Linked DNA regions of Homo sapiens: all the other regions are linked to region 1. Evidence: promoter capture Hi-C in human tissues and cell types (Jung and others, 2019). All regions are on one chromosome and are shown on one strand. Each heading gives the region's core, a stretch centred on a gene start or on the middle of the fragment in contact. The rest is flanking DNA. Distances are from core to core; before and after follow the strand shown. Region 1 holds the start of PTBP1 (polypyrimidine tract binding protein 1). Region 2 holds the start of RPS15 (ribosomal protein S15). Region 3 holds the start of NDUFS7 (NADH:ubiquinone oxidoreductase core subunit S7).

Region 1 (4,208 bases), core at 394-2,893:
TAGATGCCGCTGAGAGGGTTCAAGGGCTGCTGTGTGCTTTCCAGTAAGTTGGAAACGCCTCGGAGAGGCTGAAACTGGCAAACTCACAGGCCTGGGCCAGAGCTTCCACCCGGGTAGGGGTGGGCCCCCAAGAGGGTGCCTCTCAGCAGAGTGGAGCCCGATCCACCGAGGAGAGCAGGAGGCGGCCGTGGAAACCGTCAATAAAAATTAACAGACCGACCAGAACACAGCCTCAGTTACTGATCAACCCGAGCCCCGCCCGACCCGACTCTCCCTCCTCGGGACACCCCGGGGGGAAGGTGGATAGAAAGCCGGACTGTCCGAGGCCCTCCCTTCAGCCCCGGCCAGGTCCTGACCCAACAGTGAGCTCCCCACGGCTTCTCCCGGCCACTGCAACTCCCGGCGAGGCCCTAAGTGACTCGGAGCGTCCGTCGGAAGGGCAGCCTCCGGGCCTCCTGCCTCACTCCGGGAGGCGAGTGCGCGGCCCCCGAGCCCGCGGTGCTGGGTCCGAGAGCGGGGAGCCCTCGTCTCGCCGTCTGCAGGACCCACCTGCCCGCACGCATGCTAAGGGGTCCAGACCCACTCTAGGGCTGCGCCTCTTCTGACACCACAGACTGCACGGACCACGTTTAACAGACTTTTAAAAGTGACTGAACCCAAGAAAAACTTCTCAGGAAAACGGAAAGAATGCGAAACATCTCCAGCCTCTCCCGCTTCCTATTCCCAGGGAGGGCCTCGCGCAGGAAGCGCTCGGCGGGACACGGCCTTTCTGGAGGGGGCTCCCACCTCTCCCAAGGGAAGCCCGCCCAGCAAAGCCGCCCGGAAAGGCTGCCCCGGCCCGAGAGCCGGGAAGGCCCCTCCCCATGACGGCGCCCGCGGGGGTCCCTGGAGAGGCCCCTCCGGCCCCGGGGCGGAGGACAGACCCTCGGGGCGGCCGCTTCTCTCCCGAGATCACCGAAACCCCTTGGCCGCGGCCCGGGGCGCACGGGGGGCAGGGGTAGGGCGGGGAGCGCAGAGACTCGGGCCCGCGGCGAGGCCCCGGCGCCAGCTTTCCCTCCCGGCGGCCGCCCCAGCCCCGCCTGCGCTTCCGGGGCTGCGCCGGGGGCAGAGTCCGGGCGGCGGGAAAGGCGCGCGCCCCCGATGGCGGCCGCGCACGCGCGCTGGGGCCAACGGGGACGCGCGACGGGCTACGCAGGCGCACGAGGGGAGCGGACGGGAGGCGGGAAGGGCCATCCGGGCGCGCGAGGGCCGGACGGGAAGCGGGAAGGGCCGCGCGCCGCCGAGGCGGGGCAAAGGCGAAGTGCGGGGACGCGCGCGGAGGGGGAGGGGCGCGGGAGGCCGCGTGCGCTAGGGACGGGGCGCGCGGGGGCCGGAAGCGGGCCGGACGGGGGATGGGGACGCGGCCAGACCCCCGGGAAGCCCCTGACCCGCCCCGCACCCGCGCCCGCCACGCGGAGAGGAAGGGGAGAGCCCGCCGCCCCCTCCCGCCCGAGAGGGGGCGAGATCGGCCCCGGGGAGGCCGGCGCGGCGGCGGGGGCAGGGCTGCGGCGCGGGGAGGGCGGTGGGGCGCGGGGCGACGTGCGACTCACCCGTCCATGGCACACAGAGCAGACCCGCGGGGGACGGAGTGGAGGCGCCGGAATAGCAGGAACCGACCCAACGGCTCCGAGTTATAGACTCACAAAATGGCGGAGACGCCCGCACACGTCCCCCGCGCGCGCTGCCCATTGGCTCCCGCTGCAGCCAGGGGGCGGGGAGAGCCCCGCGGGCCCCCGCCAGCACCTCCCACTGGCCAGAAGGCCGCCCGGGGGCGGGACCCAGAGAAATCGCAGGCGCCTATTGGGGGAGGCGGTTATTCCTCAAGGCCGAAGGCGGAAACGGCTTGTGTAGTCGGGGGAGGGGGAGAAAATGGGATCACGTGACGGCGTCTGAGCCAGTCAGCTGGCGCGTGGCTTTGCGGGAGACGCCATCTTGAGAGTGGGTACGTGGCGAGTCAGGCGGCGGGAAGCGTGCTTTGCCCAGGCTGCCGCCATCTTGCAAGTGGGCAGGACCCGCCCGCCTGGGCCGTGAGGGCAAAGGGAGTCGCATCGCCATCTTGGAGTCGGGCAGGAAACCCTCAGGGCTCCATGTTGGTTGTGGGCACATGGCCAAAAAGTCCGATTCAAACTGAGCGCTCACATCTGGGTGATCGCGCGGGGAGGGAAAGGCCGCGTCGCGTCCCGGACACGCCAGGGCTGTTTCCACAGTGGCCACAGATACTGCGGGCGCGCCATGATCCGGGGTCACCCCCGACCGTTCTTTGTTCGCCCCGGAACAGCGAATCCCGACTGCGGAGATAGGGAAACTGAGGTCCGGGCCCCGCACAGTCCGCGGCCGGCTGCCTACAGCTGGGAAAACTGAGGCCTGGACCTTGTACAGTCCGCGGCCGCCCGCCTACAGCTGGGGAAACTGAGGCCTGGACCTTATACAGTAGGCGGCCGCCCGCCTACAGCTGGGGAAACTGAGGCCTGGACCTTGTACAGTCCGCGGCCTCTCACCTACAGCTGGGGAAACTGAGGCCTGGACCTTGTACAGTCCGCGGCCGCCCGCCTACAGGTGGGGAAACTGAGGCCTGGACCTTGCAGTCCTTGGCCGCCCGCCTACAGCTGGGGAAACTGAGGCCTGGACCTTGTACAGTCCGCGGCCTCTCACCTACAGCTGGGGAAACTGAGGCCTGGACCTTGTACAGTGGGCGGCCGCCCGCTTACAGCTGGGGAAACTGAGGCCTGGACTTTGCACAGTCCGCGGCCAACCGCCTAAAGCTGGGGAAGCTGAGGTCCGGGCCACACACAGTCCACGGCCATCCGCCTACAGCTGGGGAAACTGAGGCCAAAGCCACACACAGTCCACGGCCATCTGCCTACAGCGGGGGAAACTGAGGCCCAGGCCACACACAGTCCACGGCCATCCGCCTACAGCTGGAGAAACTGAGGCCCGGGCTCCATACAATCCAAGGCCGCCCGCCTACAGGTGGGGAAACTGAGGCCCAAGCCACCCGCCTACAGCTGGGGAAACTGAGGCCCGAGCCCCCTACAGTCCCTGGCCCACTGACCTACAGCTGGGGAAACTGTGGCCTGGAGCTCGTACAGTTCGAGGCTGCCAGCCTACGGCTGGGGAAACTGAGGGCCAGGCCCAGCAGGGTCACCAGGAGGGTCCCTCCCGGGCCACCATCCCAGCAGCAGAAAACACCCTAAACTAATGTTCCCAGGAGCGCTGATCACATGAAGAGTCTGACAGAGCTGTGAGGGTGCCTGACGGGGAGGCCAGGTCAGCGGGTTGGGAGCCATCCCAGAGTGAGGGGATGACCCCGGCCCTCCACACTGGGACCCTCACGGGAGGCTGCGGTTGGAAACCGGAGCAGTTCCCGGCCCGGAGTAGACACTGCTCCCTAAATAGAATTAGCGGGATTTAGTCCATGCTGAAAAGGGGGTTTTTCATTAACACCAACCTACGGAGGGAGAAGACATGACAATTCTCGTTTCCCCAAATCCAGGCGAGCCTAGCGCCCTGCTTCTCTGGCGTGTTTTATTCCAGCAGTGCTGCGTTTCAGGCCGGGGCCTGGCGTGGGCCCAGGAGCCTTGGAGCCCCGCCGGGCGTCTGGTGCCAGAGGATTCCAGCCCGGATTAGGGGTGGCCGCCGAGCTCCATGGAGGCATCGCACGGCAAGGTCCTTTGGCCCGAACCACCCGGTCAACGGAGACTCACCAAGAGCCATCTGCAGCCAGGGTCACTCATCAGGAATGTCCGGTGGATCTGGGAGAAGCCCAGTGTGTTACTGTGGATTTGCTCCCCTGGAGACCCCCATCCTCACACCACCAGAACCAGCCGCTTCTGTCTGTTCGCGGAGTGCCTGGGATGGGCCCCGCCCTGAAAGCAGACAGGCAGGGGCGGCCGGGGGTCTGAGTGGCAGCTGGCAGCAGTAGAGACCACCAGGTTCCAAGCACCAGTCTAACCCTTCGGAATCGTGTTAAAACCCACTTCTGATCGTGGCCCCGCCAGGCCTCCTGTCTTGCTCAAAGTATAAACCCAAGGCCATCCCTTACCCCGCAAGCCCCACATGACCAGCCACCTGTCCAGTACCTTTTTTTATTTTTATTTTTTTAAGACAGTGTCTGGCCGGGTGCAATGGCTCACACCTGTAATCCCAGCACTCTGGCAGGCCGAGGTGAG
Region 2 (4,208 bases), core at 1-2,500, 640 kb before region 1:
AGGCGGGAGGGTCGCTTGAGCCCAGGAGTTCAAGACCAACCTGGACGACACAGAGAAACGCTGTTTCCACAAATAATCAAAAATCAAGGTCGGGCGCGGTGTTCACGCCTGTAATCCCAGCACTTTGGGAGGCCGAGGCAGGTGGATCACCTGAGGTCAGGAGTTTGAGACCAGCCTGGGCAACACTGAAACTCGTCTCTACTAAAAATACAAAAATTAGCCGGACGTGGTGGGGGGGCCCTCTAATCCCAGCTACTCGAGAGGCTGAGGCAAGAGAATCGCTTGAACCCGGGAGTGGGAGGCTGCAGTGAGCTGGGACGGAGCCATTGCACTCCAGCCTGGGCGACAGGATGAGACTCCGCCTCAAAATAATCAAAAATTAAAAAATAAAAGCGCAAGCCAGATGCCCACCACCACCCTGCCTGGAAAGGACCCAGCGACCTCCACCGCCCTTAAAATCTAAGGAGTCTAACGCAGCCCCTTATTCTAAGTCACGTGGGCTACAGACAGGGGCTACACCTTCCAACTAAGCCGCGGAAAAGTGAACAACGGGGGGCAGGTTGCAAATAAGCAAAAACCTCAACGTCTCTGGACAGTTTTCTGGGCGCAAGACCACACTCAGTTCCAAACCCGCGCGGAGACCGTGCCCGCCCACCGCCGCAGAGGCGCTTGGACCCCCGCCCCGCCGCCCTCACCCGGACAAGCCCCACCGCTGGCCCAGCCCCTGCCCGCGACCCCCGCGGCCGCCCTTACTAGGACATGTCCAGCAGCTGGTCGAGGTCCACGCCGCGGTAGGTGAACTTGCGGAAGGTCCGCTTCTTCTTCTGCTCTACTTCTGCCTGTGCGGGCGCGGATCGGGCGTCAGCGGGATCCCGACACCCATCTCCCGGGGCCACCGGGCCCGAGGACACCGCGGAAGACGCGCGGCGCCGCCGGGGACAGAAGCCCGACAGGGACACACCGCTTCGACCCGTCCCCGGGGATCACTCGCGGCTCCGGGTTACGAGGACCCGGACATGAAGGCCCGGACAGGCCTTCCCAGCCCCGCGTCGTCCCGACACCCACCAAGTCCGCCCCTCGCCCCAACATCCAGCCGCCTGCAGGGTCGGGAGCAAGCCGCCGTAGCCGCGGGGACGAACTGCGGCCCCCGCGAGACGGTCAGAGGTTGGATGGAGCCGGATAGGCCCGGCAGAGACGCGCCAAATCGCAACACTCACCATCTTGCCGGATCCTCAGAAGAGATCGCTTTGGTCCGCGCCTGCGCAGTTATCGCGAGACTGCCGGCATGTCCCGCCCCCTCGGCCGTGCGCGCACACGCGCTTCCGCTTTCCCGGCGGCGAACACGCGCCCTCTGCCGTCTGGAGGGCAAAACACAGGCTGCAGGGATTAGAGCAGCCGCCGCCTGAGGTCTGCAGAGCCGCTTCCTCCACGGAGTGGGACTTTGGACAAGTCGCCGCCCCTGTCTGAGCCTCGGGTTCGTGCTCCGTCATCTACACGATGGCACCCACATCAACAAGTATTTATGGAGCGCCTACCGTTTGCTCGTAGGTGCGGTTTGGCGGTTCAGGTCCCACTGTGGGAGGAACACGAGAATTCATTACAGATACTGGAGCAGGGACAGGGCCTCGCTGAAAAGAACCATTCCGGCTTTAACAGATAAAATTTTGTATATAAAGTTAGTAAGGACAACACAGTGAGACTGCCTCTCTACAAAAAAATACAAAAATTTGTGTACACACGGACATAAAAGAATAAAAAGTACAAAAAATTCCCAGCTACTCGGGAGGCTGAGCCTTCAGCCCAGGAGGTCAAGGCTGCAGTGAGCCGTGATCGCGCCAACGGCACTCCAGCCTGGGCGACAGAGCAAGACCCTGCCTCAAAAATAAAGTTAGGAATATCACTGGGTTTGTTAAGATATGTAAATGTAATGTGAATAATGATAGCTCAAAGAGAAGGAGTAACTAGAACTATGTAGGAGTGACTTTTTTTTTTTTTTGAGACAGAGTTTCACTCTTGTTGCCCTGGCTGGAGTGCAGTGGTGTGATCTCGGCTCACTGCAACCTCTGCCTCCTGGGTTCAAGCGATTCTCCTGCCTCAGCCTCCCAAGTAGCTGGGATTACAGGCACCTGTTACCGTGCCCGGCTAATTTTGTATTTTTAGTAAAGACACGGTTTCTCCATGTTGGCCAGGCCATGTTGGTCTCGAACTCCTGACCTCAGGTGATCCACCCGCTTTGGCCTCCCAAAGTGCTGGGATTACAGGCGTGAGCCACCGCGCCTGGCCTAGGAGTGATGTTTCTGTATCTTACTGGAATTAAGTATAAAGTTGAAGGTGACTATTAACTATGGATGTGGCACCTGGCTGGGCGTGGTGGCTTATGCTTGTAATTCCAGCACTTTGGGAGGCCGAGGCGGGCGGATCACCTGAGGTCAAGAGTTCAAGACCAAGCTGACCAACCCTAACTCTACTAAAAATACAAAAAATTAGCCAGGCGTGGTGGTGGGTGCCTGTAATCCCAGCTCCTTGGGAGGCTGAGGCAGGAGAACCGCTTGAACCCGGGAGGCGGAGGTTGCAGTGAGCTGAGATCGCACCACTGCACTCCAGCCTGGGCGACAGAGACTCCTTCTCAAAAAAAAAAAAAAAAAAAAAAAAGAAAAAGAAAAAAAAAAAGCACAAAACCTCTGGGAACCCGAGCTTAGCTGTGGCACTGTCCAGGGAGCTGAGCTCTCCCCAGCCGTCCCCACAGTCCCAAGGGAAGCCAATTACACTGTACTCAGGGAGGGCTGAGTCTCCGTCCCGAGGAGCACAGGACCTATGTGTCGGGCCCGTCCATGTTACCCATTTTCCTGCAGCAGAGTGTCCTGGCTGGAAAGCTGATTTTGTGAGTGCTGCTCTTTGGCTGGGGGAGCTAATGTAACGGGAGGGGCTGACACTCAACACCATGATGACCTGTGGTGTGGATAGACAGCCGCCCCCGCCTGGCCCTCCTGGGAGCTGGGGCAGCAGCTCCTGAGGACATGGGAGAAGGCTCTGACGGCAGGGAATGGAGCTGGCTTCCTGGGCTGAGGCGTTGAGGGGTACTGTCTCAGTGAGGAAACTGCACTGCACAGGGATGTTGGGGGTACCCCTTCTCTTGGTTCTCTCCAAACTAAGTCAAACCTTCCCTGTCCCCAAAATATGAACTGGGGCGGGGGGGGGTGGTTCTGGCTGTCGCCTGAACAGTCTCACGCCTGGCACGCTGTAGGCTTCCAGTTTGGGACTTCATGGTCCTTTTTTTTTCTTGTTTTGTTTTTTGAGACGGAGTTTCGCTCTTGTTGCCCAGGCTGGAGTGCAATGGCGCAATCTCGGCTCACTGCAAGCTCCGCCTCCCAGGTTCAAGCGATTCTTCTGCCTCAGCCTCCCAAGTAGCTGGGATTACAGGCATGCACCACCACACCCGGTTAATTTTTGTATTTTTAGTAGAGACGGGGTTTCTCCATGTTGGTCAGGCTGGTCTCGAACTCCCGACCTCAGGTGATCCGCCCGCCTCGGCCTCCCAAAGTGCTGGGATTACAGTCGTGAGCCACCGCGCCCGGCCCTTTTTAAGTCTCGCCTTCCCTGCCACAGTGACAGAGTATCCCTTTCCAAAGATGCCCCTGTCCTAATCCCCAGAACCTGGGGATATGTCACCTTCCATGGCAAAAGATATGATTAAAGGTCTTGAGATGGGAAAAGCCTGGAGCCCACATTCCCCGAGAAAACTGGTGGTGGCCACATCCTCAAAGTCACAGCATCCCAAGACCCACTGAGGGATGGGCCCAGCTCGCCACTCAGCCTCTGCCCTGAAGCCCTCGGGGTTGCTGAGACCACCAAGAGCCAAGGGGAGGGCGAGGGCGCCTCCGTCGCGTTTCAGACCTTTCCTAGGCACTGGAAGGGTAGGCACAGGCCAAGACCAAGGAGGGAAAAAACGGACACAAAGTGGTTTCTAATCCAAACGCACTTCTCTTTATTCAAACCAGGGTCAAACTGGTCAATGGGAAACGCCCTGAAGCCACGTGCCTGGGGAGAAAGGCTTCCTACTCGGTTCGGTTCAGCGCTGCGTGGGATCCACGCGGCTGGCTGTGCGCAACCCCCACAGTTCACCTCAGACACTACCAAGCAGGTCAGTCGACAAAAGCAAGGAATTAAACAAAAAACAGAAATACACTCAGTAGATTTCTTCTAGAAGC
Region 3 (4,208 bases), core at 599-3,098, 590 kb before region 1:
CTCCACCTCCCAGGTTCAAGCTATTCTCCTGCCTCAGCCTCCCGAGTAGCTGGGATTACAGGCGCCTGCTACCACGCTCAGCTAATTTTGCATTTTTTAGTAGAGACAGGGTTTCTCCATGTTGATCAGGCTGGTCTTGAACTCCCGAACTCAGGGGATCCGCCCACCTCGGCCTCCCAAAGTGCTGGGATTACAGGCCTGAGCCACCACGCCCAGCTGGTTTGTTTTTGTTTTTGTTTTTGAGACGGAGTTTCACTCTTGTTGCCCAGGATGGAGTGCAATGGTGCAATCTTAGCTCACTGCAACCTCCGCCTCCCGGGTTCAAGCGATTCTCTTGCCCCAGCCCCCCAGTAGCTGCGATTACAGGCATGCGCCACCACACCCAGCTGATTTTGTATTTTTAGTAGAGACGGGGTTTCTCCATGTTGGCCAGGCTGGTCTCGAACTCCGGACCTCAGGTGATCCGCCCACCTTGGCCTTCCAAAGTGCTGGGATTACAGGCGTGAGCCACCGCGCGTGGGCCAGGCATTCTTAACAAGGGGCCTGGTGAGGATTCAGAACTGTGAATTTGCTTGGAATAAAAAAATATATATGTCTTTGTTGTCACCAGCATCTTATGGAAAATTAGCCCTTCATTCAATTCTTAGCGTAGGCTGGGTGCCGTGGCTCCCAGCACTTTGGGAGGCTCAGGTGGGAGGATTGCTTGAACTCAGAAGTTCGAGACCAGCCTGGGCAACAGGGCAAGACCCCCATCTCTACTAAAAATACAAAAACTAGCCAGGCATGGTGGCGCACACCTGTGGTCCCAGCTACACAGGACACTGAAGTGCCAGAATCGCTTGAGCCTGGGAGGCACAGGTTGCAGTGATGAGCCAAGATGGCACCACTGCACTCCAGTCTGAGCGACAGAGGCAGACCCTGTCTTAATAAATAAATAAAAAATTCTTAGCATAGACAACAAAATACGGCAGTATTAGCAGGACCTGTAACTTTTCACCAAGCGGAATCACAGATGTTTCCTAGCTATGGTGCAGGGGCTGCAGACGTTTCCGTATCATCAAAGCCTCATTTCCACTCCTCACTCCTTCCAAATCACAGTCGCAATTAGACCTGCCGCTAGATCGCGTTCATAAGGGAAGCACTTAGATTACTAAGTCGCCAATCAGGTTTCAAGACAATCTTTTAATAACTGCCTCTCCGTGTAACTGATTTCCTTGCAATTCTATGGATTTTATTCCATGCATTTAATAACTTTATCTGAGCAGAGGTCCGCAGGCTTCAGCTGATCCCAAAAAAGTCCCTGGAGCAGGACAGGCTCTGCGAGAGGCCCTTACCTCCCAGGGGTGGGGAGGGAGGTGGAGGGTCCAGCAGGGTGGCGTGGATGTCCTGGGTCCTGTTCCTTCCCAGGCCCGGCCCTGTGACCTCGAAGACCCTCAATGGGCCTCAGTTTCCCAGCCTGTCAGGCAGGCCCCGCTCTCTCCAGGGCATCTCAAGAGCAGCCTCGCGGGCCGTGCCCTGGTCTCGGGGACGTGAATGGGGCCCCTCCAGCCTCCACCCCGAGCGCCTTCCTGAGGCTGGAGGCTTGCGTCATGACCTACCGGGCCTCGGTTTCCCCGACTGTACTCTGGACGCAATAACGGCGACCGTTCATCGCAAGCCGGGCGGGGAGCCCGAGGAGCGGCCGGCTCGGAGAAGCCCGGAGAGGACCGCGGCCACGACGCCGGCACCGACCCCCGACGCCACCACGACACCCGAGGCTCCCACGGCCCCAGACCCGCGCGGCCCCACACCCGCCGCCGGTGCCGCGCTCACCTGACAGCACCGCCATCTTGGCCTCGGCCTTCAGACAACCTCTGAGGTCCGTTCTCCTTAGCGCTCCGGGTTCCCGGGGCCGCCGCCCAAAGCGGCTCGGAGCGCATGCGGAAACCGGAACCTGGAGCCGGGAGGTTCCGCTGCGCTTTCGGCCTCCGTGGTCGTGTTGCGCCGTGCACCCCCAGATCACCCGAGGCGGAAAGGTCATCGGAGTGCGCACGTGGGGGCCGCGGGTCTGCGGCGGACCGACAAAAACAGAGGCGACACTCATTTTCTTGTTATTCCAGGAGGGCAAAAGTCACCACGCGTCCCTGGGTGGGCTCGAACCACCAACCTTTCGGTTAACAGCCGAACGCGCTAACCGATTGCGCCACAGAGACGACACTGCGCTCCGGCGCCCTGGGAGACCTTACAAAGGATGTGGGGCCTGCTGACGCGAAACGACTGCGCCTGCGCAGGGAAGGCGCAGCGCGGGACGGAGTCCCGGCGAGAGCGACTCTGCCGCCCAGCCGAAATAGCTCAGTTGGGAGAGCGTTAGACTGAAGATCTAAAGGTCCCTGGTTCGATCCCGGGTTTCGGCAGAAGTTTTAGCGCCTCTTGCGATCACTGATGTCTTTCGTTCAGGATTGGTCCAGCTGCCTCGCAGCTATCCCGGACCCCTTACCGCAACATCACCGCATTCTGCAGAGGAGTCGCCGCGATGTGGACTCATCCCAAAGTAAGGGGGCTCAGACCTCACAACCCCAAAGCCTCCTCTTCCCACCCCTAAGAGGTCATAATTTCAGCTCAAACTTCCCCCTTCCCTGACACACCCTCGATTTTCCATCTTGCTTAAATTGATAAGTTTACAACCAGTACTAATGATATAAAAACTAACACTAAACACCCAAACTAGCAAAACAGAGTTTGCAGAACGCTTTCTGCATGCATATCATTTAATTTTCACAATTCCACTGGAGGTTTTGTCTGCCTGTTTTATGATTACAAAAACAGAGGCAAAGGCCGGTGCGGTGGTTCACGCCTGTAATCCCAGCACTTTGGGAGGCTGAGGCAGGCAAATCACCTGAGGTCAGGAGTTCAAAACCAACCTGGCCAATATGGTGAAACCCTGTATCTAAATCCCAGCTACTCGGGAGGCTGAGGCAAGAGAATCACTTGAATCCGGGAAGCGGAGGTTGCAATGAGCTGAGATCGTGCCACCGCACTCCAGCCTGGGCGACAGAGTGAGACTCCATCTCAAAAAAAAAAAAAAAAGAAAAAAGAAAAAGAAAAAGTAAAGAAAACAGAGGCTCAAATTAGGTGAACACAGGTGACTAGCAAGACTGGGGGCCCCTTGAGGACCACAACAAGTGTTTACTGAATTCGTGCCATGGGCTGGGGACCCACTGCTGAGCAAAGCCAGGCCTGGTCTCTGTTCTTGGGCAGCTCAAAAGGATTGGAGGGGCCCAGCATGGTGGCTCACACCTGCAATCCCAGCACTTTAGGAAGCCGAGGCAGGAGGATCACTTGAAGCCAGGAGCTTGAGACCAGTCTGGGCAACATAGCAAGACCCCATCTCTACAATACATAATAATAATAAAGACTTGGGGGAAAAGCTGACAAGAACCTAAGAGGCTGGCAGGTGCACAAAACCCTCTTCCTTCTCTAGTTCTCATAGCTGCCCGTGCTGTAGGGTTTTGGTTTTATTTTTATTTATTTATTTTTTGAGATGGAGTCTTGCTCTGTCACCCAGGCTGGAGTACAGTGGCAAGATCTCAGCTCACTGCAGCCTCCACCTCCCTGGATCAAGTGATTCTCCTGCCTCAGCCTCCTGAGTAGCTGGGATTACATGCACACACTACGATGCCCGGCTAGTTTTTGTATTTTGAATAGAGACAGGGTTTGTTGGCCAGGCTGGTCTCGAACTCCTGACCTCAGGTGATCTGCCCACCTCGGCCTCCCAGAGTGCTGGGATTCAGGAGTGAGGCACCACGCCTGGCCATGGTTTTGGTCTTAAATTTATATCAATATTTTTAGAATAATTTAGAGTTGTGAGTACCCCATGCCCAGTTCATGAGTGTGATACATTTGTCACATGATACATTATTACTGACCAAAATCTACACTCTATCCAAGTTTCCTGGGTTTCCTCTAATGCCCTTTCCTGGCCTAGGGCTCCATCCAGGACCCTACGTGGCATCAGGCGTGGTGTTTCCTCAGCTCCTGGGACCGTGGCCGTTTCTCAGGCATTCCTGTTTCTGATGCCTGCACAGTTCTGAGGCAGGACTTACTGTGGAACATTGCTCATTAGGGATTTTGCTTGTGGATTTTTTTTTTTTAAATACAGTCAGGGACAGCAGAGTGCCTCCCCTGTCCCCGGCGTGCCATGCTGGGATCATGTGTCAGCTGCCCTGGAC

What was found. Contacts are between HindIII fragments. The study calls those that stand out against the background at their distance.
Region 2: the fragment with the promoter of RPS15 here is called in contact with the fragment with the promoter of PTBP1 in region 1 in 2 of the 25 tissues and cell types used here (heart left ventricle and spleen).
Region 3: the fragment with the promoter of NDUFS7 here is called in contact with the fragment with the promoter of PTBP1 in region 1 in 1 of the 25 tissues and cell types used here (dorsolateral prefrontal cortex).

The regions. Positions count from the first base shown.
Region 1 is chr19:794,887-799,094 of GRCh38, reverse strand. It overlaps PTBP1 (polypyrimidine tract binding protein 1), which reads right to left and starts at 1,643. Exons shown (of 15, transcript NM_002819.5): 1 at 1,590-1,643. The coding sequence starts at 1,597. RefSeq lists enhancers at 1-804, 805-1,690, 1,897-2,236, 1,889-2,524 and silencers at 947-1,256, 1,327-1,506, 1,517-1,866, 1,630-1,984. The HindIII fragment of the contact is 37,831 bases long and covers 1-4,208 here.
Region 2 is chr19:1,435,438-1,439,645 of GRCh38, reverse strand. RPS15 (ribosomal protein S15) reads right to left here and starts at 1,250. Exons shown (of 4, transcript NM_001018.5): 1 at 1,218-1,250; 2 at 754-839. The coding sequence starts at 1,220. It overlaps DAZAP1 (DAZ associated protein 1), which reads right to left. Exons shown (of 12, transcript NM_018959.4): 12 at 3,962-4,208. RefSeq lists enhancers at 1,007-1,226, 635-1,505. The HindIII fragment of the contact is 20,902 bases long and covers 1-4,208 here.
Region 3 is chr19:1,381,547-1,385,754 of GRCh38, reverse strand. It overlaps NDUFS7 (NADH:ubiquinone oxidoreductase core subunit S7), which reads right to left and starts at 1,848. Exons shown (of 8, transcript NM_024407.5): 1 at 1,813-1,848. The coding sequence starts at 1,828. TRF-GAA1-6 (tRNA-Phe (anticodon GAA) 1-6) reads left to right here and starts at 2,321; the gene lies at 2,321-2,393. It overlaps TRN-GTT2-6 (tRNA-Asn (anticodon GTT) 2-6), which reads right to left and starts at 2,192; the gene lies at 2,119-2,192. RefSeq lists silencers at 1,719-1,778, 2,029-2,168, 2,349-2,478. The HindIII fragment of the contact is 12,722 bases long and covers 1-4,208 here.